Regions from separate parts of the Homo sapiens genome. Here all the other regions are linked to region 5. Evidence: promoter capture Hi-C in 16 types of primary human blood cells and fetal thymus (Javierre and others, 2016). All regions are on one chromosome and are shown on one strand. The core of a region is centred on a gene start or on the middle of the fragment in contact, and the rest is flanking DNA. Distances in the headings are between cores, read along the strand shown.

Evidence for each region. The method cuts DNA at HindIII sites, captures the fragments that hold promoters and counts their contacts. A CHiCAGO score of 5 or more calls a contact.
Region 1: a fragment that was not itself captured here is called in contact with the fragment with the promoter of NKX6-1 in region 5 in 1 of 17 cell types (monocytes); the score reaches 5.2 in monocytes.
Region 2: a contact is called between a fragment that was not itself captured here and the fragment with the promoter of NKX6-1 in region 5, in 7 of 17 cell types (M1 macrophages, monocytes, M0 macrophages and 4 more). The highest score is 8.9, in M1 macrophages.
Region 3: a fragment that was not itself captured here is called in contact with the fragment with the promoter of NKX6-1 in region 5 in 1 of 17 cell types (monocytes); the score reaches 7.7 in monocytes.
Region 4: a contact is called between a fragment that was not itself captured here and the fragment with the promoter of NKX6-1 in region 5, in 1 of 17 cell types (activated CD4 T cells). The highest score is 5.2, in activated CD4 T cells.
Region 6: a contact is called between a fragment that was not itself captured here and the fragment with the promoter of NKX6-1 in region 5, in 1 of 17 cell types (monocytes). The highest score is 5.1, in monocytes.
Region 7: a contact is called between a fragment that was not itself captured here and the fragment with the promoter of NKX6-1 in region 5, in 1 of 17 cell types (monocytes). The highest score is 9.4, in monocytes.

Annotation. Positions count from the first base shown.
Region 1 is chr4:83,609,333-83,612,862 of GRCh38, reverse strand. No RefSeq gene overlaps it. Among named protein-coding and RNA genes, the nearest start is that of GPAT3, 75 kb to the right of the region's middle. The HindIII fragment of the contact is 5,435 bases long and covers 1-3,530 here.
Region 2 is chr4:83,504,985-83,508,302 of GRCh38, reverse strand. No RefSeq gene overlaps it. Among named protein-coding and RNA genes, the nearest start is that of ABRAXAS1, 22 kb to the right of the region's middle. The HindIII fragment of the contact is 4,036 bases long and covers 1-3,318 here.
Region 3 is chr4:83,566,880-83,570,284 of GRCh38, reverse strand. The region is part of intron 2 of GPAT3 (glycerol-3-phosphate acyltransferase 3); the gene reads right to left. Among named protein-coding and RNA genes, the nearest start is that of GPAT3, 32 kb to the right of the region's middle. The HindIII fragment of the contact is 1,265 bases long and covers 1,105-2,369 here.
Region 4 is chr4:83,586,921-83,590,413 of GRCh38, reverse strand. GPAT3 (glycerol-3-phosphate acyltransferase 3) reads right to left here. Exons shown (of 12, transcript NM_032717.5): 4 at 3,085-3,159; 5 at 2,115-2,204; 6 at 122-215. Among named protein-coding and RNA genes, the nearest start is that of GPAT3, 53 kb to the right of the region's middle. The HindIII fragment of the contact is 690 bases long and covers 1,798-2,487 here.
Region 5 is chr4:84,497,541-84,501,378 of GRCh38, reverse strand. NKX6-1 (NK6 homeobox 1) reads left to right here and starts at 2,087. Exons shown (of 3, transcript NM_006168.3): 1 at 2,087-3,820. The coding sequence starts at 3,151. The HindIII fragment of the contact is 5,978 bases long and covers 1,010-3,838 here.
Region 6 is chr4:83,542,617-83,546,429 of GRCh38, reverse strand. GPAT3 (glycerol-3-phosphate acyltransferase 3) reads right to left here. Exons shown (of 12, transcript NM_032717.5): 2 at 1,828-1,894. Among named protein-coding and RNA genes, the nearest start is that of GPAT3, 8.4 kb to the right of the region's middle. The HindIII fragment of the contact is 1,505 bases long and covers 928-2,432 here.
Region 7 is chr4:83,523,492-83,526,871 of GRCh38, reverse strand. No RefSeq gene overlaps it. Among named protein-coding and RNA genes, the nearest start is that of GPAT3, 11 kb to the left of the region's middle. The HindIII fragment of the contact is 1,739 bases long and covers 438-2,176 here.

The sequences.
Region 1 (3,530 bases), core at 439-2,938, 890 kb after region 5:
CAGATTAAATCCCCTAATCAAAAGATATACACTGGCTGAATGGATTTTTTTAAATGACCCAACCATATACTGTCTACAAGAAACTCACTTCACCTGTAAAATACACATAAATCAAAAGTGAAGGGATAGAAAAAGATATTCTACACAGAAACCAAAAGTGGGCAGGAATAGCTATAGTTATATCTGATAAAATAGGCATTAGGTAAAAAAACTATTTTAAAAAAAGGGACAAAGGGCCAGCCATGGTGGCTCATGCCTGTAATCCCAGCACTTTGGGAGGCTGAGGCAGGTGGATCATGAGGTCAGGAGATCAAGACCATCCTGGTCAACATGGTGAAACCCCGTCTCTACTAAAAATACAAAAATTAACTGGGCATGGTGGCGCGTGCCTGTAATCCCAGCTACTCAGGAAGCTGAGGCAGGAGAATCGCTTGAATCTGGGAGTCAAAGGTTGCAATCAGCCAAGCGCACCGCTGCACACCAGCCTGGCAACAGAGCGAGACTCCGTCTAAAAAAAAAAAAAGAAGGTTATTATTTACTGATAAATGGATAAATTTTGCAACAGGATATAACAATTATAAATGTATATGTACCCAACCCTAGAGTACCCAGATATATAAAGCAAATATTATTAGATCTAAAAGGAGAGATAGGCTCCAATAAAATAGTAGTTGGGGACTTCAAGACCCCACTCTCAGCGTTGAAGAGATCATCTAGGCAGAAAATCAACAAAGAAACATCCAATTTAAACATACTACAACCAAAAGACTTAACAGACATTAAGAACATTTCATTCAACAGCTGTAAAATACATATTCTTCTCATCAGCACATGGAACATTCTCTATGACTGACCATGCATTAGGCCACAAAAAAAGTCTCAACAGATTTTTAAAAACCAAAATCTCATCTAGTATCTGTTCTGACCGCAATGGAATAAAACTAAAAATCAACAACAAGAGGAACTTTAGAAGCTGTACAAATACATGGAAATGAAACAACATGCACCTGAATGACCAATGAGTGAATGATGAAATTAAGGAGAAAATTTAAAAATTTATTTAAACAAATAAAAGTGGAAACACAACACCCAAAACCTATAGGATACAGCAAAAGCAGTATTAAGAGGGAAGTTTACATCAGTAAACACATACATCAAAAAAAGTAGAAAGATTTCAAATAAATAACAATGCACCCCAAGGAACTAGAAAAGCAAGAACAAACCAAACCCAAAATTAGTAGAAGAAAATAATAATATCAGAGCAAATATAAATGAAATTAAGACCAAAAAAATGCAAAAAAAAAAGATGAAACAAAAAGCTGCTTTTTTGAAACAATAAACAAAATTTGAAAAGGAATAGCTAGACTAAGAAAAAAGAGAAAAAACCCAAATATATAAAATCAGAAGTGAAAAAAAAGACATTACAACTGATAGCACAGAAATACAAAGGATCATTAGAAACTATTATGAACAACTCTACTTCCTAATTTCTGTTAGAAAAACCTAACAGAAATGGATAAATTTCTGGACACATACCACCTACCAAGACTGAACCAAGAAGAAATGAAAAACCTGAACAGAATAATTACAAGTAACCAGACTGAACCAGTAATAAAACATCTCCCAATAAAGAAAAGACCAGGCACAAATGACTTCACTCCTGAATCCTACAAAATTATTTAAAAAGAACTAATTTCACTGCTTCTCAAACTATTCCAAAAAGTTAAAATGGAGAGAATTCTTCCAAAATCATTGTATGAGGCCAGCATTGCTCTGATAATACAACCGGACAAAGTCACAATAAAAAATAGAAAAGTATAGGCCAAAATATCTGATTAACAAAGATCCAAAAATCCTCAACAAATACTAGCAAACCAAATTCAACAGCACATAAAAAATATACACCATGATCAAGTTGGATTTATCCCAGGAATGCAAAGATGGCTCAATATATGCAAATTCATAAATGTGATACATCACATCAACAGAATGAAAAACAAAAACCATATGATTCTTGAACAAAAAGAACAAAGCTGTAGGCATCACACTACCTGACTTCAAAATATGCTACAAAACTATATTAACCAAAACAGCTTGATATTGGCATAAAAAGAAAAATAGACCAATGAAACAGAATAGACAATGCAGAAATAAATCCATGTATTTAAAGCCAACTGATTTTTTACAAAGGTGCCAAAAACATTCAATGAGAAAAAGGACAGTATCTTCAATAAATGGTACTGGAAAAACTAGATATCCATGTGCAGAAAAATGAGACTAGATCCTTAGTATAAAAATCAATTCAACACAGATTAAAGACTTAAATGAAAAACCCAAAACAATGAAACTACTAGAAGAAAATAGAGGGAATGTTTCAGGACATTGGTCTTCTTTAAAAACCCAAAACTATGAAACTACTAGAAGAAAATAGGAGAAATGCTTCAGGACATTGTTCTGAGCAAAAAATTTATGAATTAGACCTTAAAAGCACAGGAAACAAAAGCAAAAATAAACAAATGGAATCATATATAACTAAAATGCTTCTGCACAGCACAGAAAACAATAAATGGATTAAAGAGACAACCTGCAGAATGGGAAAAGATTTTTGCAGACTAATCATCTGACAAGGGAATTTTTTTTTTTTTTTTTGAGCAGGGTGTCACTGTCACCCAGGCTAGAGTGCAGTGATCATAGCTCACTGCAGCTTCAAACTTCTGAGCTCAAGTGATCCTTCTGCTTCAGCCTTACAAATAGTTAGAACTACAGATATGCACCACCATACCCAGCTGATATAAAAAAAAAATTGTAGAGACGGGGTCTCACTGTGTTGCCCAGGCTGATCTCAAATTCCTGGCCTCAAGCTATTCTCTCACCTCCACCTCTCAAAATGCTGGGATTACAGGTGTCAGCCACTGCACCTAGCCACTGACAAGAGATTAATATCCAGAACATACAACAAACTAAAAAAACTCAATAGCAAAATAATAATAATAATAATCTGATTTTAAAGTGGGCAAATGATCTGAATAGACATCTCAAAAGAAGACATGCAAATGATCAAGTTTACAAAAAATGTTCAACATCATTAATCTTCAAGGAAATGCAAATCAAACCCACAATGAGATAGCATCTCACCCCAGTTAGAATGGCTATTATCAAAAAGACAAAAAATAGCAAATGCTGGCAAAGGTCCAGAGAAAGGGGGACTCATACACTGTTGGTGAAGATGTAAATTAGGACAGCTATTATAGGAAACAGTATGGATGTTCCTCAAAAACTAAAAATAGAACCACCATATGACACAGCAATCCCAGTACTGAGTATTTTTCCATAGGAAAGAAAATCAGAATGTCAAAGAGATATCTGCATTGCCATGTTTATTACAGCACTATTCACAGTAGCCAAGATATGGAATAAACCTGTGTCTATCAACAGATGGATGGATAAAGTAAATGTGGTGTATATACACAATGGAATACTATTCTGCCATAAAAAGAATGAAATCCTGTCACTCACAGCAACATGGCTAA
Region 2 (3,318 bases), core at 411-2,910, 990 kb after region 5:
GAACCTCCTACCCGGATCTCATTGGCCTAGCCGCTGAAGACTGATGGTGCCCTGGAACGGACACCCCGGCAACTACCATCGCTTCATCCAAGCCAAGGGTAACCCTGATGGTGGCGGGTAGGCCAGTATGTTTTTTTAATTAATACCGAGCAACCTACTACTCTGCTTTACCTAATTTTTCAAGACCCATCCAGTCCTCCCAAGTCTCTGTTGTGGGAATTGATAGAGAAGTCTCCAAACCCCGAGCCCCCCACTTCATTTTTCTGCTCCCTGAACACCTTTTCCTTCACTCACTCTTTCTTAGTCCTGCCCTCGAGCCCATCTCCGCTCCTAGGCAGAGATATCCTTTCAAAACTTCACAATACTCTCCACTTCCACGTTCCCCATCGTATCCAACACATCAACCCAGACCCCTCTGGGGCTTCTAACTTTCTTCTACTCCTCCAACCTCCCACCTTAAAACATGCAACCTTTTCTTATCCCCCATCCGTAGTTAACCCCGCTTTTTGGGATACTTCCACACCCTCAGTCGCAGAACACCATAGCCCCGTCCACATTACCCTTAAACAGCCCACCCATTTCCTATCACAGAAGCAGTATCCCATCCCCCAAGCAGCTCTCATATGCCTAAAGCCTATCATTTCTCACCTCCTCACCAGTCATCTATTCTGCCCAACAAACTCCCCTTGTAACACACCAATTCTACCTGTTAAAGAGCCAGATGGAACTTAATCACTTAGTCCAGGACCTCAGGCTCATTAACCAAGCTGTACTCCCAGTATGTCCAGTAGTTCCTAACCCATGTACTTCACTTTCCGCAGTTCCCTCCAATACCACCCATTTTTCTGTCCTAAACTTAAAGGATGCTTTTTCACAATTCCTTTACACCCTGATTCCCAAAACCTCTTTGCCTTTACGTGGGAAAACCCTGACACCCACATTTCACGTCCACTCACCTGGTGCGTACTACCTCAAGGTTTCAGAGACAGCGCCCACCTTTTCAGACAGGCCCTTGCTTGTGACCTCTGTACCTTATCCCTAAAACTGTCCACTCTCCTTCAATGTGTTAATGATCTGCTCCTGTGTAGCCCCTCCCAAAGAGACTGCAACGCCCATAGTATCTCTCTCTTTTAAACTTCTTGGCAGAACAGGGGTATCAGGTCTCCCCTAAGAAAGCACAAATATGCACCCCCTCATTCACTATCTAGGCCTAGCCCTTACCCCGCTAACCTGAGGGCTCACAACCGACCACGTATCCCTCCTCCAGTCCCTCCCGCCTCCACAAACTAAGCAAGACATTCTCTCTTTTCTAGGACTAGCAGGATATTTTAGACTCTGGGTTCCCTCCTTTGCTCTACTTGCCAAACCGTTATGCCAAGCCACTAAAGGCCCTCTCCATGGGCCTTCAAACCCTGCACAGCCTATTACCCAACCTTTCCATCTACTCCAAAAGGCTCTCATCTCAGCCCCTCTCCTCACTCTCCCAGACCTCACCAAACCTTTCTCCCTCTATAGCGATGAACGGCGTGGAGTTGCATTAGGCGTTCTAACCCAGTCTAAGGGACCCACTCTCCAGGTTGTTGCCTACCTCTCTAAACAGCTTAAAGCCACAGTTCCCGGATGGCCTGCCTGTCTCTGAGCATTGGTGGCAGCTGCTCTCCTTTTAGGCCTTGAAAGCCTAAAACTTTCTGTCCATGCCAACCTAACAGTTTATTCAACCGATAACATCAAAGACATGCTGGCTCACCGCAGTGTACTAAGTCTCTTCTCTGCCCCACAGCTCCTCCAACTGTATGCTCTATTCATTGAAACTCCCCACATCACCATGCTAACCAGCTCCCATCTAAACCCAGCCATGCTCTGTCCCTATCCTTGTTCTCTCCTCTTTACTCCTCAGAAGAAAAGGAGGACTTCCGGGCCCAAAACCTTCAAAAGCAAGGACCATGGTATGTCAAGAAACGGAGCTTTATTCTTCCTCACTCTCAAAGCCTTCCTCACCTCCAAAGCCTCCACAACTCTTTCCATGTTGGTTACAAACCTCTCCTGCAACTTCTCCGCCCTATTCTCACTTGTCCTCACCTTTCCAGCCGTGTTTGAGAAATTACCCAGTCCTGCTCTATCTGCCACTCAGTGTCACCCCAGGGCTCCCTCCTGCCTCGGACTTTTCCTACCCACCAAGCCCAGGGCCAGGTACCTGGGCAAGATTGGCAAGTAGACTTCACTCACATGCCACCCGATAAACAGCTCTGCTATCTTCTAGTCTTTGTCTGTACTTTCTCCGGGTGGGTAGAAGCATTCCCAACAACTTCACAAACTTCAGAAAGTGCAAATATTGTCACACAAACTCTCATCATGCATATAATTCCCGGTTTCGGACTCCCAATAGCCATCCAGTCCGATAACGGACCTGCCTTCACCAGCCAAATTACCCAAGGCGTCTCTACATCCTTAGGTATAAAATGGGTCCTCCACACACCCTACAGGCCTCAATCTTCAGGCAAAGTTTAAAAAGTTATCTCTGTCCTTAAAGCCCAACTCACCAAGCTGGCTCTAGACACCCACCAGTCGTGAACAAAAAAATCTCCCTTTTGCCCTCATGAGACTCTGCACAACACCAAAGACATCCTCTTTTTATAGTCCCTTTGAAATCATGTATGGCCAAACTTTTGTTTTGGGGCCTCCACCCTTACCAGACTCTGAGCCACTCAAGAATTACCTCCCTTCCTTAATCCAGACATGGTCTTTCATTTGTGAAGCAGCAAATGAGGCCATGCCTCTCCCTGTCAACACCGCCTTGTCCTCTCAACATAACTGTCTTGCAGGCACAGATGTGTTTCCAGACAATCCAAACAATGCTCCTGCTAGAACGACGTGGTGGCTACCAACCCATCTCTCAAGAATACCCAAAAAATTAAGGTTTTCTTTTTCCAAGGTGTCCACGCCACCCCCTATGTCATGCCTGAAGTAGTTATTGAGAAAGTCATTCCTTTTCCCTTTGCTATAACCAAATAGACAAGAATGTAAGATTCTCCCCAGGGCCTGAAAGCCTAAGGGGATGAGTGACTCCTGCCTGCTCAGGCCCAGTCCCAAGGCGCAAGGCCACCTGCATCAGCAGCGTGTGTCAGCAAGACAGCAGAAGCAGGAAGAGAGCCAGCCGGAAGTCACGTACGCCTGAAGCTCAAGAAAGAGGCCATCCAGGTACGACGTAGCAGTTACGTCAGACTAGGACACTTCCTGTTTATAAAATCTTTGCCTCATCTTCACTTGGGGCTGACACCATTTTAGGCCTCAGCCCGCCTGCACCCAAGTGCTCATTAA
Region 3 (3,405 bases), core at 488-2,987, 930 kb after region 5:
GTATTCTGTATTATCTCCAACTTATACATGAGGAAATTAAAGTGCAGAGGGGTTGAGTAACTTGCCTGGGGCCAGAGAGAAGAAGGAACTGAGACAGGATTTGCAACCAAGTCGGTGACTCCAAAACCAAGTGCTTCCTCATATGTTATTGCCTCAAGTTTCACATCGCTCTAACCAATACCTGCCCACTGACGAATCCCAAATATGTAAGATATTTCTCGTCAATACAACACCACCCCCAGTTCTTCCTTGCTAAACAGAAAGCCCTGAGTAGCAGCTCTTCCTAGCATTTCTCCTACCTTTGAGGGAAGAAAGATAACTTTAATTGATACAAGAAAATCTATATATGGCCCCTATCTAACATTAATCTAGACATGCACTTACAATTCACTTACACGTGATCATTCTTCCCAGAAAGTTGTGACACAATTCACCCTTTTTTTTTTAACTGAGGCAGGAATCTTTTACAGCTTGGAACCCACTTAAATTCCTCTCATTTAGAATCTCTGGGCCATCCTACAATAAGCCAAACAAACAAACAAACAAAACCATGCCCTGGGCAGTGGTGCACCAAGTGGTCCCCAGTGCTGTAGTTCAGCCAGGTCCACGTTGTCCAAGGAGACCGTTCTGCCCTCTGCTAAGACTCTGTAACATCAGTGCACAGGCATCCTGCCAGTATCCTTACTCTTCAAGGCCTCTACACGGCAGAAGCAGCTTCCCTACACATCTCACAGATGACATAGTCAAGGTTTAGAAAGGATAATCCCCCTTGATTTGTTGTTGGTGTTATTGTTCTTAGATATATTCTCACACCTTCTACCATTTTTACATCTTTATTAACCTGGACCGTCAGCCAGGCAAGGTTTATAGAAAATGGTCTCTCTTTTTTGGTCCAAAGAGCCAAGCAGCCCTGCTATATTCTTCTCAGTCATCACTCCAGGTTTCAGTTCAAGGTCTTTGAGCAAAAGACAGATTGACCATGAAGCCAGTAAGGTTAAACTTCAGGGTCCAAACTTGCATAGGCTCCTTCCAAGGTCCTGTACTTACTTTTGCATGGATCACTTTGTATTCCTTATTAAAGAAGGCCTCTAAATTGCATAAGCTTTAAGCCCCCACAAGACCTGGACTTGCCCCTACCTCTGAATAACATTATCATTTTGTTGATACAAACAACAGATCTATGTTAAACCATTCACCTTACAAATGAAGCTGATTTAGGAGAAATACTTAAGATGAGAGAACCAACTGATTACCAGTAAGCATTAGAACACTGGGAGGTCACAGACACACATAACATCTTTCCACTTAATTTCACATATTATGAATAGTATTTTATCTATTTAATGGTTACATTAGCAATGTACTAGTAAGAGAGGTTGCTCCTTGTTAGGCAGTTTTGTGGTTATTTTAAGGTTTTAAGTTTCTCAGTTATTGGAAGTGGGGGAATTGAAGAGGATGACAAATGAAAAATGTGAATACAGGCCGGGCGTGGTGGCTCATACCTGTAATCCCAGCACTTTGGAGGCTGAGGTGGGTGGATCACCTGTCAGGAGATCGAGCCTATCCTGGTTAACATGGTGAAACCCCGTCTCTAGTAAAAATACAAAAAGTTGGCCGGGTGTGGTGGCGGGTGCCTGTAGTCCCAGCTACCCCGGACGCTGAAGCAGAAGAATGGCGTGAATCTGGGAGGCGGAGCTTGCAATGAGCCTAGATCGCGCCACAGCACTCCAGCCTGGGCAACAGAGCGAGACTCCGTCTCAAAAAAAAAAAAAAAGTGAATACAAATGAAAAGTTAAAAAACACTACATAAAAGTTTCACAGGTTTCCTGGTAGCAATAACCCTGCCTTAGAAGAAATAGATTATGATATACCATACAATAGGTCCATAAAATGAAAAGGGGAAGAAGTCATCACAACTATGATGACCTTTAATATACATGAAATGTGCTCAAAATAAATGCATCTCCTTTGGTTTTCCTAAGCGCTACTCAATCATGATGACTCAATCACAATTGCCTATTTTAAAAAAAAGCATTCGAGTTATGAAACTACTCACGCTCCCCCTAGTAACATGGCCTGGGTTGGCACATTTAAAGATACAAGTTACAATCAATTTTTTTTTAATGTGAAACAGGGTAAAGTTTACTTTAAGCACCTGCACACCCCACTACTTAATCCAATTAAGAAAAATAAAATAAGGGCAGGAGAGAAAGCCCACATATAATACAAAATAAAAATGTGCAAAGAAAAAAACAGAAAATCATAAAAATCATAAGAAAGAATTCTACACAAAGTCTTCTGCAAATAACTTTAATGAAAATCTGGGTAAACAGATAATTTTCTATTTAAAAAAAAAGTTGCTCAAAGCTTTACTGACACCAAGAGATGAACATGCTAAAGAGAACCATTTGCACAGATGAAATAATGTTGCAGGCAGCAAAAAAATACCTACATATGCACCCCTAACCAACCAATAAGCACCAGACCCAGGCTTTTTTTGTTGTTGTTGTTTTCAAATAGAGACAGGATTTTGCCATGTTGCCCAGGCTGGTCTTGAACTCCCGAGCTCAATGATCCACCCGCCTCAGCCTCCCAAAGTGCTAGGATTACAGGCATAAGCCACCACTCCTGGCCCAGACCTTTTTTTAAGGAATTCTACCAAACATTTAAACTGACAAGGGAAGGAGAAATAAAGGAAGATAGGTAAGTAATACACTAATCACAAGTATAAGAATCAACTGTAAAAATCCTAACTTCAATTTTGGCAGACAACTTCCAGCATCATATTATGACCAGGTAATGTTTATTCCATAAATGCAAAGACAATTCAAATATTTTTAAAGTTATTAATAAAATTCACTACAATGGGTCTAAGAGGGGTAATCTATCTTCACCATCAGACATGCCTTAAAAGCATGAAAATTCAACATTCACTCTTAATTTAAAGTAACAAAACAAGAATCAGCAACTATTTAACATGAGATGGAAAAATAGATCAAAGTTGACATGATCTTTATTGGGAAGACCCTAAAGGCACTGAAGACCATCCACATAGAAATGCCAACTTGCCAACTAGCACCACTACTGTTTAGCACTGCAGGGAGTATCAGCCAGCACAACCAGACAAGAGAAAAAAAATGAAGTACAAACTAGGAAAGAAATAAAATGCAAACCAAAGTTGAATAAGAAATGGCAAGCCTATCAATATCTGAAGATAAAATAATTATATATCTGAACAAAAGGAAATTCCTGAAAAACCATATACAGTATGAGAATTCTTAATTTTATATTCTTCTACCTTACTAAAGTAGAAAATTTTCCTATACATGAACAACAATTATTTAGAAAATATAATGGAAGAACACACCTTATTTATAATAGCAACTAAAATATAAAACTAAGAGG
Region 4 (3,493 bases), core at 893-3,392, 910 kb after region 5:
CAATAGTATAACGCAGTCAAATTTCTAACATAAAACCAACTTGCTAATTTATGCCAAAATAAAAAGTTTGATCAATCCATAAAACATGCAACTACTTGAAATATCAATGAGCTGCTCTTACCATAGCATAACATCCATCCGTTGTCAAGATTAAAACATCAATGGGGGAAGTATGGTTGGCAACACAAATGCCTCCCTTCTGGGGTCTGTACTGCCTGCAATTACAAACAATGGAAAATTCGAAGTCTTCTAAAATAGCCACAGCATGTAAATACTCATCTTACTTTTTTAAGTGTGTGTGTGTGTATATATGTAATTTTTTTTTTCGCGTCTCACTCTGTTGCCCAGGCTGGAGTGCATTGGTGCAATCTTGGCTCATGGCAACCTCCACCTCCAGGGGTTCAAGCAATTCTCCTGCCTCAGCCTCCCAAGTAGCTGGAATTACAGGTATGTGCCATCAGGCCCAGCTAATTTTTATATTTTTAGCAGAGATGAGGTTTCTCCATGTTGGCCAGGCTGGTCTCAAACTCCTGACCTCAAGTGATCTGCCCCACTCGGCTTCCCAAAGTGCTGGGATCACAGGCATAAGCCACCGTGCCTGGTCTTTTTTAAGTATATTTTTAAAAATTAAGTTTGGAGGTACACGGGCCCATCTTTAAAAGGTGATCTCTAGGTAGTGTGATGAGAGTGTGGTAGGGGGCCCATGATTTTTCCATTGATAATACACAGCTTTCACTTATTTAATCTGAAGTATTTTCACATTATTCTGATCTTCATATACATCACTTTTAGTGGTTTCATGGTAATCCACGGAGAAAATTCACCATAATTTCCTCCCTCCTATCCTCCTAGAGCAGAGGTTGGCAAACTTTTCTTATCAAGGGCCAGACAGCAAATACTTTAAGCTTTGCAAGCCAGACAATGCTTGTCACAATTACTTGACTCTGCTGTTGTGACACAAAAGCAGCCACGGCTGTGAATGAGCACGGCTGTGTTCCAATAAAATGTTATTTACAGAAAACAGCTGGTGGGCCAGATTTGGCCTATAGGCTCCCAGTTCAGTTTGTTGATCTCTACCCTAGAGTGAAACCAGTATTTGACACCAATAAAGCAAAGTAGTTTTCTTTGGGCCTATACAGAGAAGAAAGAACCAAATACACAATTATTTAGCATATTTTCTTCAAAATGAGAAGCAATTCTATAAGAAGTTAGGAACTCCTCTTTATGTAATAAGTGTGCCTTTTCTACAGGTGTTTCTTCTGACTGCACACCTGCCAGAGTGTTTTCTTTCACTCTTCACTTTAAAACTCATAGTCCAATTGCAACATCATATAATTTAAAATGTTTAAAGGGTCTTTTATGTTGGTACCACATGGTAAAGCCAAATGGCAAAATGTTTCCCTTCTACAAATGAGAAAGAAAGACCAAATCAGTAAAAAAGAGAAGCTTGGCCTAGAACTTTTAAAATGATGTTAAATCTAAAAAAAATTAAGATAATAGAAAAGTAGTTCAAATGCAATCAAAATCACTTTCACTTAGCTAATTCCTTTCCTTTGCTGCCTTCATTCTCTACAATTCTGGGAGAGAAAAGCAGAATTTTGTTTTAAGGCTCAATTATGGAATTTTAGAAGTAGCAGGACTAAGAATAGAGACCACATTTCCAGACTCCACGTCTAGTCCTATTTCCACCACAGTACAGACCTGTCAACTTCATTGTTTTTAAAATCAGAGAGACATGGCTCAAAACCTGATTCCATTGTTTATTCACTGTGACCCTAAACAACAAATCCCAAAGCTTACATTTCTTCCCCTATAAAATGGGTTAACAGTGCCTATCTCATAGGGATGAGCTACAAGAAACACAGGGTCTGGCCTGCACACCATAAATGCCCAATTATTGAGCACAACTACGTGTTTATTATTATATTCTTTCTGCAAACACTGCTATTTAGTGTTTTTGTGCATCATGCCTGTGCCACACTGAGAAGTAGAGATGAACACATTGGAAGCACTCTGACTCCACCCACTTCTTCCCAACCACTTCCAATGCTTCCTTGTCAATCTCATGCTGAATTGACCTAGAAAAAGACAGGCACATTGGAGCAGATACTCACTTGTTATGATAATGAATGGTACCAGAGAGGGCTCGCACACAGATCCGGCAGCAAGTCAGATGGACCAGTTCACTCAGCCAGTTTTTGAGGCTGAAGGAAATAGAAACATTTTATTGTGCCATTCTGGGCACTCTTAAGAAACAATATAATAAAGGTTTTAATGTGCTTTTTCACAACAGCATACCACATTCTATTCTGGTGAACAGGTACAGTTCAATTCTTATAGTCTTATAGTCAATTGTTATAGTCTCATTGGCACATTTAGTATTAGATCACAAAAGTCTACCAAAAAAACTGGACATAACTCTAATGAAAAGTGGCTCAAAACCACTAGGCTATTATGACAAATTCCTGAACGAGATAAAGTGAAGCTTCTTTGGTCTTGGTCTTATGAGCTTGCCAATATATAAGACTCTCTTAGGTAACTCAGTTCATTTTCTTTCTTCAATTCTCCTTTGAAAAAACAACTTCTTTCAATTAATATGGAAGTATGATTTAAAAAAATCAAAGACTATGAAGATGAAGTGAGCAGGATTCTAATAAATGAGTAGAGAACATAAATTTAATGCAATGCAGCCTGGTGTGGTAGCTCACACCTGTAATCCCAGCACTTTGGGAGGCCAAGGAAAGCAAATCACAAGGTCAGGAGTTCGAGACCCCCCTGGCCTACATGGTGAAACCCCGTCTCTACTAAAAATACAAAGAATTAGCTGGGCATGGTGGTGGGTGACTGTAATCCCAGCTACTCAGGAGGCTGAGGCAGGAGAATCTCTTGAACCCAGGAGGCGGAGGTTGCAGTGAGCCAAGATCACACCATTGCACTCCAGCCCAGGTGACAGTACGAGACTCCGTCTCAAAAATAATAATAATAATAATGCAATACATAGGAATCAAACAAATATTCTCTTTGTGGACACAGCTAAGAAAAAAGACAGTCCTATATATGGCTGGATGGAAGGAAACATTTCACCTGCTGTCTGGCAGCTGCCCAACCAGTGTAGTTCCTATAACCAGCAAACTGATCCCAATGAAAGCCAAGGTAACCCTGAAAAAGAAAAGAGAGGGCCATATAAGATTTTGACACATAGCATGGAAGTAACCAAAAAGTTCCTAAATAATAAAATTGTAAATAAGTTGTAGAGTATCCACATGATGAAATATGATGCAGCCACTAAAATAACTGGGTAAATCTATATAGATCTAACACGGAAGAATGTTCCACGACACACTTTAAGAGGCAAAAAGCAAAGTAAGTTTCAGAATAAAGTACAGAATATGATGCCATCTGCAAAACAACAACAAACACATGTGTAACAAGTCTGTATATGCATAGAGAAGGCCTGGAAATTTTCACAAAACTATCAAGTTAAATCTATATA
Region 5 (3,838 bases), core at 838-3,337:
GAATGCAGTGTCCTGGAGGATGTGAGGAGGTCGCTGGAGGGCCAGGCGCAGAGTGGAGACTGAAGGTTGGGTACCACCGCCAGGGTGGAGTGTCCGAAGGCGAGAAACGTTTCGTTTGTAACGAAGCCAGAGACATAGGCCCCCCAGTTTCAAGGCTAGGACGGGCTATGCCTGCCACCATCCTCCCGCAGCTTCCTGGCCGAGGTGGCAGGGCGCTGGGGTTTAGACCCAAGCACTGGATCCCCGCGTGGAAATGCAGAAGGTCCGCACATCAGCTCTCTTCTGAAGCAAGTCTTGGCTTGACTCCTTAGCACTATTCATGCTGACGAAGGACTTCACCTTACCCCAGGTCAGATTCTAAAGTCCATGAAATAATAGATTTAAACCAGTCTTGAAGTTAATGAAGAAAGATAAAGGAAGAGGAGGACCAAATAACATTGCTTCTATCTTAGAAGGAAATAAAACTGGCAAATATAACCCTTCCTTCCCCCAGTTTCAGACTCAAACTCAAGCTGACCCTTAAAAACTAGTGCTTAGTAAACGAAGGTTATCGAAGCGGAGTACGCCCTCCTGGCTTTTCGTGCTTGGACCCAAATGAGCGCTTTGACACCAATAGCTAAACTCCATCCGTCGGTGGTGCTGATCAAATTTTATTCTTGAGCCATTTATTGCGTTTATTTCTGTTTTCTGCTCATTAAAATTGTAATTAATGATCTCATCCAAATTTGCTGTAGCGACCACCTTCCAATGGTGTGTTACTTTAACATGCTGAATTCTCAAAATTGTCAAAGGGTTTTCCTTCTCCAGCCCGCAGTTCAACCCTGTCGGGAACGTAAAGATCAGCCAGAGATGGAAGAGATTTAGAGAGTAAAGGAAGCCACCCTTCAACTCCTAAACTCTAGATAGACATCCCACCACCACTGTCCAGGAGCTGGTACATCTCCATCTCCCGTAGCAACTCTAGAATTGGGAGTAGGCGCCAGAGTTTTGGAGAGGGTTTTCAAAAGCTTACAGTTCCCAGGGTGTACCTAGATGCTTCTGTATCTAAAGTTTCCGCCTGAATTTTGATGATTCTACCCCCATGTAAACCCAAAGGAAATAACAACAATAATCAAAGGGAGAAAAGTTAAGGGAAAAAACTCCCTCACTGTTCTCAGGTATAAACATCATCTGACAGATAAATATTCCTATTAAACGGATTCAGTTTTCAGCGAATTGAGTAACCCATAAATGATAATGAACGCGGTGGGAAGCGACGGGCGGGGGGGAACTCGGGAATGAAAAAAAAAATAAAGTGGAGGAGAAAGAACAGAAAAGGAAAGCAGGAGGTGGAAAGATGGAAGAGGACGATCCTTTGGCCTACAAGGGGATTAAGGACATCTATAAGGCTTAAGGAGCAACAAATTAATTTACACAATTCTGGGAGAGCCCAGATGGCCTTTAATTAATCCCTTCAAAAGAAGGAGCCAGGCCAGGGCTGCGCCGGCTGCCTGCTCCATTAGCTCCATTTTACAAGGGACCAGACTTGGTTCGAGGTGAGGCGCCCTCCAGAGCTGGTGGGGGAAGGGGATAGGATGACGCGAGCGGGCTAGTGGGGAAGCAAGGGAAGAATATGAACTGCTTTTCCATAAAAGGGCTGAGTTTTCATTATTCCTCTCTTTAAAAAGTAATACCCTCTTCGTCTCTGCTTCCCCCTCCCCTTTCTCATTTTATTTAGCACAATTAATTGAGGCGGCCACTGGCCCCAGCGCGGAACCGCACCACTCACCAGCTCCCGCCCCTCCTGGCCCCGCCCACAGGAGAAAGAAGTAGGGAGCGGGAGGGGACTAGGCGGGCGCGGCCCTACGCCTGGCCCGCCTCAGCCAATCAGAGGGTGCGGCGCCCCCGAGTGGGCGAGCCCCAGGGGCGACGCAAGGATCGAGGCGGCGAGCTATTGGACACGGTGGTTACGCCCCCGGCCTGCGCCCGGCTCGCCGGCCCCCGCAGCCTCGGAGTGACGTCCCTCAAAGTTCTCATTTTGGTCCCCCACTTCCCCCTCCCTTTCGTCCCCCAGCTAAAGAGGGGTAGGGAGTGATGCAAATGTTTTATTACCTTTGAGAGCTTCATCTGAACTGTCAGGCCCGGAGGGAGAGAGGAAAGGAGAGAAAGAGCGGAGGAGCCGCGGAGAGGGTCAGTTTGGCCAGAGGACAGGACTTAGAAGACCGAAGCCTGGGAAGCCGCGAAGAAAATGCCAGAGAGGAGAGTCAAAGGCTGAGAGTGAGAGGGAGAGAGGGAGCGGGGGTGGGGCGGGGGTCGCCGGGCCCGTTTGCAGAAGTGGACTGACGAGCGGCGCCGAAACCCAGCCGTCAGACTTTTCACACTTAGTCTTTTGTTTTTCTGTGTTTTTCCTCCCCCTTTTTCTTTTCAATATTGCAACTCCAGTGCCCCGTGGGCCAGAGGGCAAGGCGGGTGGAGGTGAGGACCTGGGAGCCGCGGGGATCCGTGGCACTGCCCTTTCTGGCGCAGCAGCCCGGGGCAGCGTGGGCGGAGGAAGCCCGCACAGAGGCTAGATCTCCCGCGGGCTGGATGCGCTTTCTCCCCGGGCACAGTGAGCGTCGAATGCGAATCAGCCGCGCGACCGAAAGAGCAGAGCATCCCAGTAAGATCAGAGGAGCGCCACGGGCTGCACAAGGCGTCCTTTGAACCTCCCCAAAGAAAGCAAGCCACCCCCACCCTCCAACTTCAAAGTGGAGATTCGGCAACTAACTTTGCTACAAACTCTCCGGAGCCAGCCTGGGTTTTGTTTTGCTTATTTCCCGGGGGCAGAAGATGAGAAGTAGCGCACTTTGAACAGCTAGGAAAAGTGAGGAAGAGAGAATAGCCAGGGATCGAATCTAGGACTCGCGGAACGAAAGGACTGCCTAGCCCGCCGGGACGCCTGCTTTTCTCGGCGAGCTGCCGCCTCCCGCGTGGAGGGTTTGGACATCTCTGCTGCGCAGCTAGGCGAGCAACTCCCGGCAGCGGCATTTTTGGTTCAGTTGGCAGCTCGCCTCCGGGCGCGCCGAGTGCCTCTCCGCTCGCGCCCTCGGCGCTTCCGGCTCCTCTGAGCCCCGCGGGGGGCACCAGCCAGCGCCCTCGCTGCAAGGCTACGGTCTCCGGCGTGGCCGTGGGATGTTAGCGGTGGGGGCAATGGAGGGCACCCGGCAGAGCGCATTCCTGCTCAGCAGCCCTCCCCTGGCCGCCCTGCACAGCATGGCCGAGATGAAGACCCCGCTGTACCCTGCCGCGTATCCCCCGCTGCCTGCCGGCCCCCCCTCCTCCTCGTCCTCGTCGTCGTCCTCCTCGTCGCCCTCCCCGCCTCTGGGCACCCACAACCCAGGCGGCCTGAAGCCCCCGGCCACGGGGGGGCTCTCATCCCTCGGCAGCCCCCCGCAGCAGCTCTCGGCCGCCACCCCACACGGCATCAACGATATCCTGAGCCGGCCCTCCATGCCCGTGGCCTCGGGGGCCGCCCTGCCCTCCGCCTCGCCCTCCGGTTCCTCCTCCTCCTCTTCCTCGTCCGCCTCTGCCTCCTCCGCCTCTGCCGCCGCCGCGGCTGCTGCCGCGGCCGCAGCCGCCGCCTCATCCCCGGCGGGGCTGCTGGCCGGACTGCCACGCTTTAGCAGCCTGAGCCCGCCGCCGCCGCCGCCCGGGCTCTACTTCAGCCCCAGCGCCGCGGCCGTGGCCGCCGTGGGCCGGTACCCCAAGCCGCTGGCTGAGCTGCCTGGCCGGACGCCCATCTTCTGGCCCGGAGTGATGCAGAGCCCGCCCTGGAGGGACGCACGCCTGGCCTGTACCCCTCGTGAGTACTACCACCCGC
Region 6 (3,813 bases), core at 431-2,930, 950 kb after region 5:
TAAATATTCAAAAAGTTCTCATTTCTGTATAGGCAAAAAAAAAAAAAAAACTAAATCCACGCTACTAGACCCTCTCATCTACTGATTTTTTAATCCCATCACCTGCCAAATTGAAATACTTTGTGTCCTTTAAAACTCATGGCTGGGCCGGGTGCAATGGCTGATGCCTGTAATCCCAGCACTTTGGGAGGCCGAGGTGGGAGGATCGCTTGAGGTCAGTAGTTTGAGACCAGCCTGGCCAACATGGTGAAACCCCTTCTCTACTAAAAATACAAAAATTAGCCAGGCATGGTGGCGCACGCCTGTAGTCCCAGCTACTCAGGAGGCTGAGACAGGAAAATCACTTGAACCTGGGAGGCAGAGGTTACAGTGAGCCGACATCTCGCCACCGCACTCCAGCCTGGGGGACAGAGGGAGACTTTGTCTCAAAAGCAGAAAATTTAATTAATTTAATTTAATTTAAATAAGAAAATTAAATTAAATTAAAATTCATGGCCCAAAACATGTACCACAATCACCCCAATCTATTAAGGCCCACTGATTTTCTCTCAAGATCAACAGCTCAGAGTCTCACCAAGCACAACAGAAAACCAGCAACAAAGTTTGTTCTTTCCTTAAATCATAAGGACATACATTTTTTAATGAACCAGAATAATTTTTTTAAATGATAGAGCTGCTATATTTCAGAGAAGGTATCTGGCAATTAAAAAAAGGATAAAATATAGCCAGAAATATCCGGACTTGGTAAAAATGTGATTGGTGATAATATTTGGGTGTTTAAGTATACACCATGAAGCTCTACTAGTTGCTTCAATCATTTGAAAATCATAATCCAATTATACAAAAATACTCCAATGTTTTCAAATATTTTGTTATTTCCAAAACTCACTATAGAATACAATTTCTACAATTCCTTTTAGAAAAGCTTCCAGAAGATAAATTCCTTCCAGTAAAGTATTTGATAGTTTGACTTTTTTTTTTTTTTAAATGAGGTCTCACTGTATTGCCCAGGCCAGAGTGCAGTGGCATGATCACAGCTCACTACAGCCTCAACTTCCAGGGTTCAAGTGATCCTCCCACCTCAGGACCCCACTCTGAGTAGCTGGGACTACAGGTGCGCACCACCACACTCAGCTAATTTTTGTATTTTTTGTAGAGACAGGGTTTCGCCATGTTGCCCAGGCTGGTCTTGAACTCCTGAGCCCAAGCGATCTGCCGGCCTCAGCCTCCCACAGTGCTGGGATTATAGGCGTGAGCCACTGCACCTGGTCAAGCATGTTTCTTTATTGCAGGACTTTTCTGAGCCTTTATTAGTAGGCACTAATACTCTCCAAAGGCAAGTATAGTATGTGATGATTCCTAAACTTATTTCACGAGAAAATTATTTTTTATTTCATGTATTACCAATTAGCCTTCAGCAGAAAAGAGTACTTTGAGGAACATACTTTGAGAATCACAAGTTGGTTAACGAAACCTCAATAATAGGTTTTAACTCCCAGGAACTCCCATTAGCCTTTTTCTTTCTTTTTTTTTTTCTTTTGGCCATCGACTACATCTTTAAAACCACGGACAGCCATCTTCAAATACATGCCCTTAGAAAGGAAAACAATACCTATAAGAACATATAGATGAGCTAACACATATTACCACCTTTACAATAAAAAGTCCATGAAAACTCTGGCAGCTGCAATTTTACACTGACAGAATTATGAAAGATCCAAACCCTATAGAACACACTGCTCTCTGCATATTTCAAGTTCAAATTGGGTAGGTTTACATCCACCCAATTTAAATATGGTAACAATCATAATGAAAAGGAAAACTCACCAACAGAAGCAGAGTTTTTAAGAATCGACTCCTTTGGGGTTCCTTTTTCAATTCGTATTGTGGCCCACTGTTCAAAAACAAGAAATATTAATTTAAACTGTCCCACAGACACAACATAAAACACTTCAACCATGATTATACAGAAGTGAAATTACACATCAAGCTCTGGCAGTGTCTGAACTAAAGAGCTAACCCCAGGGAATCTCTGATATAGCAATATTCCAAGTCCCAAGTATACTTTTATATCACTTACTGATAATACCCTAATAAAATGTGGAAAGGACAATATTTACCCTTTCTCAACTGCCTCACATGCATTGGTGACCTGATAAATTACTCCTTGAAAAGGCTGTGAAGCATGGGGGGCATGAGTACAGGTCACGGCATCAAGAATGTCTGGGTTTGAAATTACTTATTCCCTATAGGCCTCCGTTTCCTCATTGTAAAACAAGGATAATAGATCCTATCCCATAGGGTTGCTGTCACATTAAACAAGATGACACATGTAAGGGCCTAAACGTAGGGCGTAAAGTGTAACAATTATTTTCACAACAAATTAGACATTCAGGGGTAGGACACGCTCAAAGATGCATCAGAAATAAGCTTGCAGAAAGAGGCAGCACAGACTTGGAAAGCTGGAAAGGACTCGATGAAATCATTAACTAAGGCACGATTGGCTCATGCCTGTAATCCCAGCACTTTGGGAGGCCGAGGAGGGTGGATCACTTGAGGTCAGGAGTTCAAGACTAGCCTGGCCAACATGGCGAAACCCCATCTCTACTAAAAATACAAAAATTAGCCAGGCATGGTGACGCATGCCTGTAATCCTAGCTACTCTGGAGGCTGAAACAGAATTGCTTGAACCAGGGAGGAAGAAGGTGCAGTGAGCAGAGATCGGGCACCTGCACTCCAGTCTAGGCAACAGAGTGAGACTCTCTCAAAAAAACAAAAAAACAAAAAAAAAGAATGAAAAAGAAATCATGAACTACGGAAAATGATCTGTCCACATGGTTACTTATGAAGATGCATAGGAAAATGTTACAATTATGAAGATCTACAGATTTGAGGGAATTTAAGAACTGGAAAACAACTCTCACTTTGTTTTGAATATACCTAGGAGTATAAAGAAACGTACCCAGATGTGATTTTTTTATTTTTTTCTTTATACATTTTTTACACATTTCCCAAATTATTCACTATTAACATCATAGTTCAAAAACTGCTAGTGAACTTTTCAAGTCTCTCATTCTAGAGAATCCCAAGGGCTTTTATACTAAAAAGTACTGTAATAATTATTATTGAACATAAGCACCCTTGAAGGGGCAGAGACAAAATTTTTTTTTTTTGAGACAGGGGCTTGCTGCTGCCTTGACCTCCCAGGCTGAAGCAATCCTCCCACCTCAGCCTCCTGACTAGCTGGGACCACAGGCCCGCATCATCATTCCCAGCTAATTTTTGTATTTTTTGTAAAAACCGGGTTTCACCTTGTCGACCAGACTGTACTCAAACTCCTGAGCTCAGCAATCTACTGGCTTCAGCCTCCCAAAGTGCTGGGATTACAGGCGTGAGCTAACATTTTATATTTTATTTTATTTTACTTTTTGAGAAGGAGTTTTCGCTCTTGTTACCCAGGCTGGAGTCCAATGGCATGATCTCGGCTCACTGCAATCTCCACCTCCAGGGTTCAAGCGATTCTCCTGCCTCAGCCTCCCAAGTAGCTGGGACAACAGGCACCCACCACCAGGCCCAGCCAATTTTTGTATTTTTAGTAGAGATGGGGTTTCACTATGTTGTCCAGTGTGGTCTCGAACTGCTGACCTCAGGTGAGCCATCTGCCTCGGCCTCCCAAAGTGCTGGGATTATAGGTGTGACCCACTGCACCCAGCCCAGAGACAGATTTATTAATATGCCAAGTCAAAAACCTCAGTTATTGCTAAGCTCAAAAGAGTCTGTTGACTAGAGAGGTTAAAATTTTTTTCAAATAAA
Region 7 (3,380 bases), core at 58-2,557, 970 kb after region 5:
TTTATTTAAAGAGAAACTCGCTCTGTTGCCCAGGCTTGAGTGCAGTTGCGCCGTCTCAGCTCACTGCAAGCTCCACCTCGAGGGTTCAAACGACTCTCCTGCCTCAGCCTCCCAAGTAGCTGGGATTACAGGCATACGCCACTACATCTGGTTAATTTTTGTATTTTTAGTAGAGACTGGGTTTCACCATGTTGGCCAGGCTGGTCTTGAACTCCTGACCTCAGGTGATCTGCCTGCCTTGCCCTCCCAAAGTGCTGGGACTTAATCTAGTCTTATTGGAACCACTGTCATAGTATCTGATACCTGAACCTACTATATCAAGTCTTCAAAGTAGTAGTGAGAGCTAGAGGTGAGAATTTTCATCCCAGGGCAAACGATGTTGTCATTACACACTTGCTGAATTGAATGGAGGGTCTCACAGGGGCAAGTATGAAGCTTGAAGGAGTGGGTACACAGGTGAAGAGAAACCTCTGAAGAGAAAGCCCAGGCTCTCCTCTTCCCAACTCATTTATATACTGGTTATATGTAAATCAGCAGTCACAAGCCAGAGAACCACAGGCCAGATGCCCTTTACAAAGGTCTCATAAAATGTTCTCTAAAAACTTTGAGTTGGCTGGGCAGTGTTTCCCACCTGCAATCCCAGCACTTTGAGAGGCTGAGGTGGGAAGATTGCTTGAGCCCAGGAGTTTGGACCAGCCTGGGCAACACAGTGAGACCCCATCTCTACAAAAACTAAATTTTAAAAATTAGCCAGGCCAAGTGTTATACACTTGTAGTCCCCACTACTCAGGAGGCTGGGGTGAGAGGATTGCTTGAGCCTGGGAGATAGAGGGTGCAGTTGAAAAATTGCCATTGCAAAATTATGACAGTAAGAGAAATCTGACATAGTTGACTCCATCTTGCTTCTAACCTCCAAGCTATCCTTGCTTATTCTTGGGTGCACACCAAGCTAACTTTGGGAGAAATTTGTAGTTTAAATGATAGTAACCCTTCCCAAAACTAAACTGCCTTTCTAAAACTAAAGAAAGTCCAGCAGGTTAGAAGGATGACAGGGGCCCGAATTCTGCTAAAATGTGGGCTTAAACAATTACCAGCCATTATTCTGGAGGTCACAAGACTCGCAACTTCTCCAATTCACTATTTCAGAACCTAAGATTGGCCTTTTGGGACATCTCTTTAGACTTTTGCATTTCTGAGAACTAGATGGCTCCACCCAGACCCTCAACTCTTAGTTCAACTGGTCCTGTAGCCCCTACCCAGAAGCAGACTCAGTGTGCAAGGACCATTGTCCACAGCCCTATGATTGCTTCTCCAACCAATCAGCAGCACCCATTCCCTTAGCCCACTGTGCACCAAACTATCCCTGAAAGACCCTAGCCTCTGAATTGTCAGGGAGATTGATTTGAGTAATAACTCCATCTCCCTATGTGGTGTGGCCAGCCTTATGTCAATTAAACTCTTTCCTTACTACAATGTCATGGTCACAGTGAATTGATTTTGTCTGTGCAGCCCACAGGAAGAACCTGTTAGGTGATTACACAGTAAGCCATGATCATGTCACCACACACCAGCCTGGGCAACAGAGCAACACCCTGTTTCAATAAATAAATGGCCAGGCTCAGTGATTCATGCCTATAATCCCAGCACTTTGGGAAGCCAAGGCAGGTGGATCACTTGAGGTCAGGAGTTCGAGACCAGACTGACCAACATGGTGAAACCCCATCTCTACTAAAAATACAAAAATTAGCCAGGCGTGGTGGTGGGTGCCTGTAATGCCAGCTACTTGGTAGGCTGAGGCAGGATAATCACTTGAACCCGGAAGGCAGAGGCTGCAGTGAGCTGAGATCACACCACTGCACTCCAGCTTGGGCGACAGAGGGAGACTTCGTCTCAAAAAAGTAAATAAATACATTTTAAAAATTTGAATTGATTGCCCACATATTAAAATATTGACACTAAAATTAAAATGCCTATATTATTCTAAAATCAGGTGTTAGAGAGGGAAAAAAATTACTTCCCTCCACCCTTCTCGGTTCTCGTATATCTCTTTTGGCTGGGCTATAAATTAAATTGACATAAAGCAGATTAACAGGAGAAAAAACATACTGAATTACATATATATGTACAAGAGTCCCACAAAATATGGAACTTGAAAAGGGGCTGGGTGATTGAAGCTTTCAAAGCACTCTGAGCTACTGAAGGGAATACGGGCTTGGAGCTTTTGGGGTGTGGTAAAGACAAGTTATGAGAGGGTGAGGGGAGGAAATGCATGGTAGATAAAAGCTGTCTTGTTTTGGGGGGTTTTGTTTGTTTGTTTGTTTTTGTTTTTGAGATGGAGTCTCGCTCTGTCGCCCAGGCTGGAGTTCAGTGGCACGATCTCAGCTCACTGCAACCTCTGCCTTCTGGGTTCAAGCAATTCTCCCACCTCAGCCTCCCAAGTAACTGGGACTATAGGCGTGCACCACCACACCTGGCTAATTTTTGTATTTTTAGTAGAGACAGGGTTTCACTGCGTTGGCCAGGCTAGTCTTGAACTCCTGACATCAGGTGATCTGGCTGCCTCAGCCTCCCAAAATGCTGGGATTACAAGCATGAGCAAACACACCCGGCCGAAAGCTATCTTGTTATGCAGATGAAGTCTCTCAGGTAATAAAAGTAATCTGAAGTAGCCCTCTTCCTGATACAGATACTTTTACTAATGTAGATTTCCTTTATAGATCTAAATTTCTTTTATAAAATGAGTTTTTCAGAGCTTCCTGATAGATACTTTTACTAATGTAGATTTCGTTTATAGATCTAAATTTCTTTTATAAAACAAGAGCTTTTCAGAGCTACTCCTGTGTCTGCAGTTCCTTAGAATAACCAGCTTGAAATATGCCAAAGAAGTATATTTTGAGGTGTCATAGTCTGGTCTCCTATAGTCATGTTTTGGGGTGGTGGGTCCTGAGCCCCAACACAGGCAACCCTGAGCTCACATGTCTGCAGAACGTAACCTCTTCAGTGTGTCCCCTCTCCATCTCTTCCACGGTCTTTTGTCATCACCCTGGCATTGACATATCTCTTATATCAAGCAGTGGCTCACACCTGTAATCCCAGCACTTTGGGAGGCTGAGGTGGGTGGATCACCTGAGGTCAGGGGTTCAAGACCTGCCTGGCCAACACAATGAAACCCAATCTCTACTAAAAATAGAAAAATCAGCCAGATGTGGTGCACCTGTAACCCCAGCTACTAAGGAGGCTGAGGCAAGAGAATTGCTTGAACCCGGGAAGCAGAGGTTGCAGTGAGCTGAGATCACAGCACTGCACTTCAACCTGGGTGACAGAGTGAGACTCTGTCTCAAAAAAAAAAAAAAAGAAGAAGAAGAAAATGACATGTACTT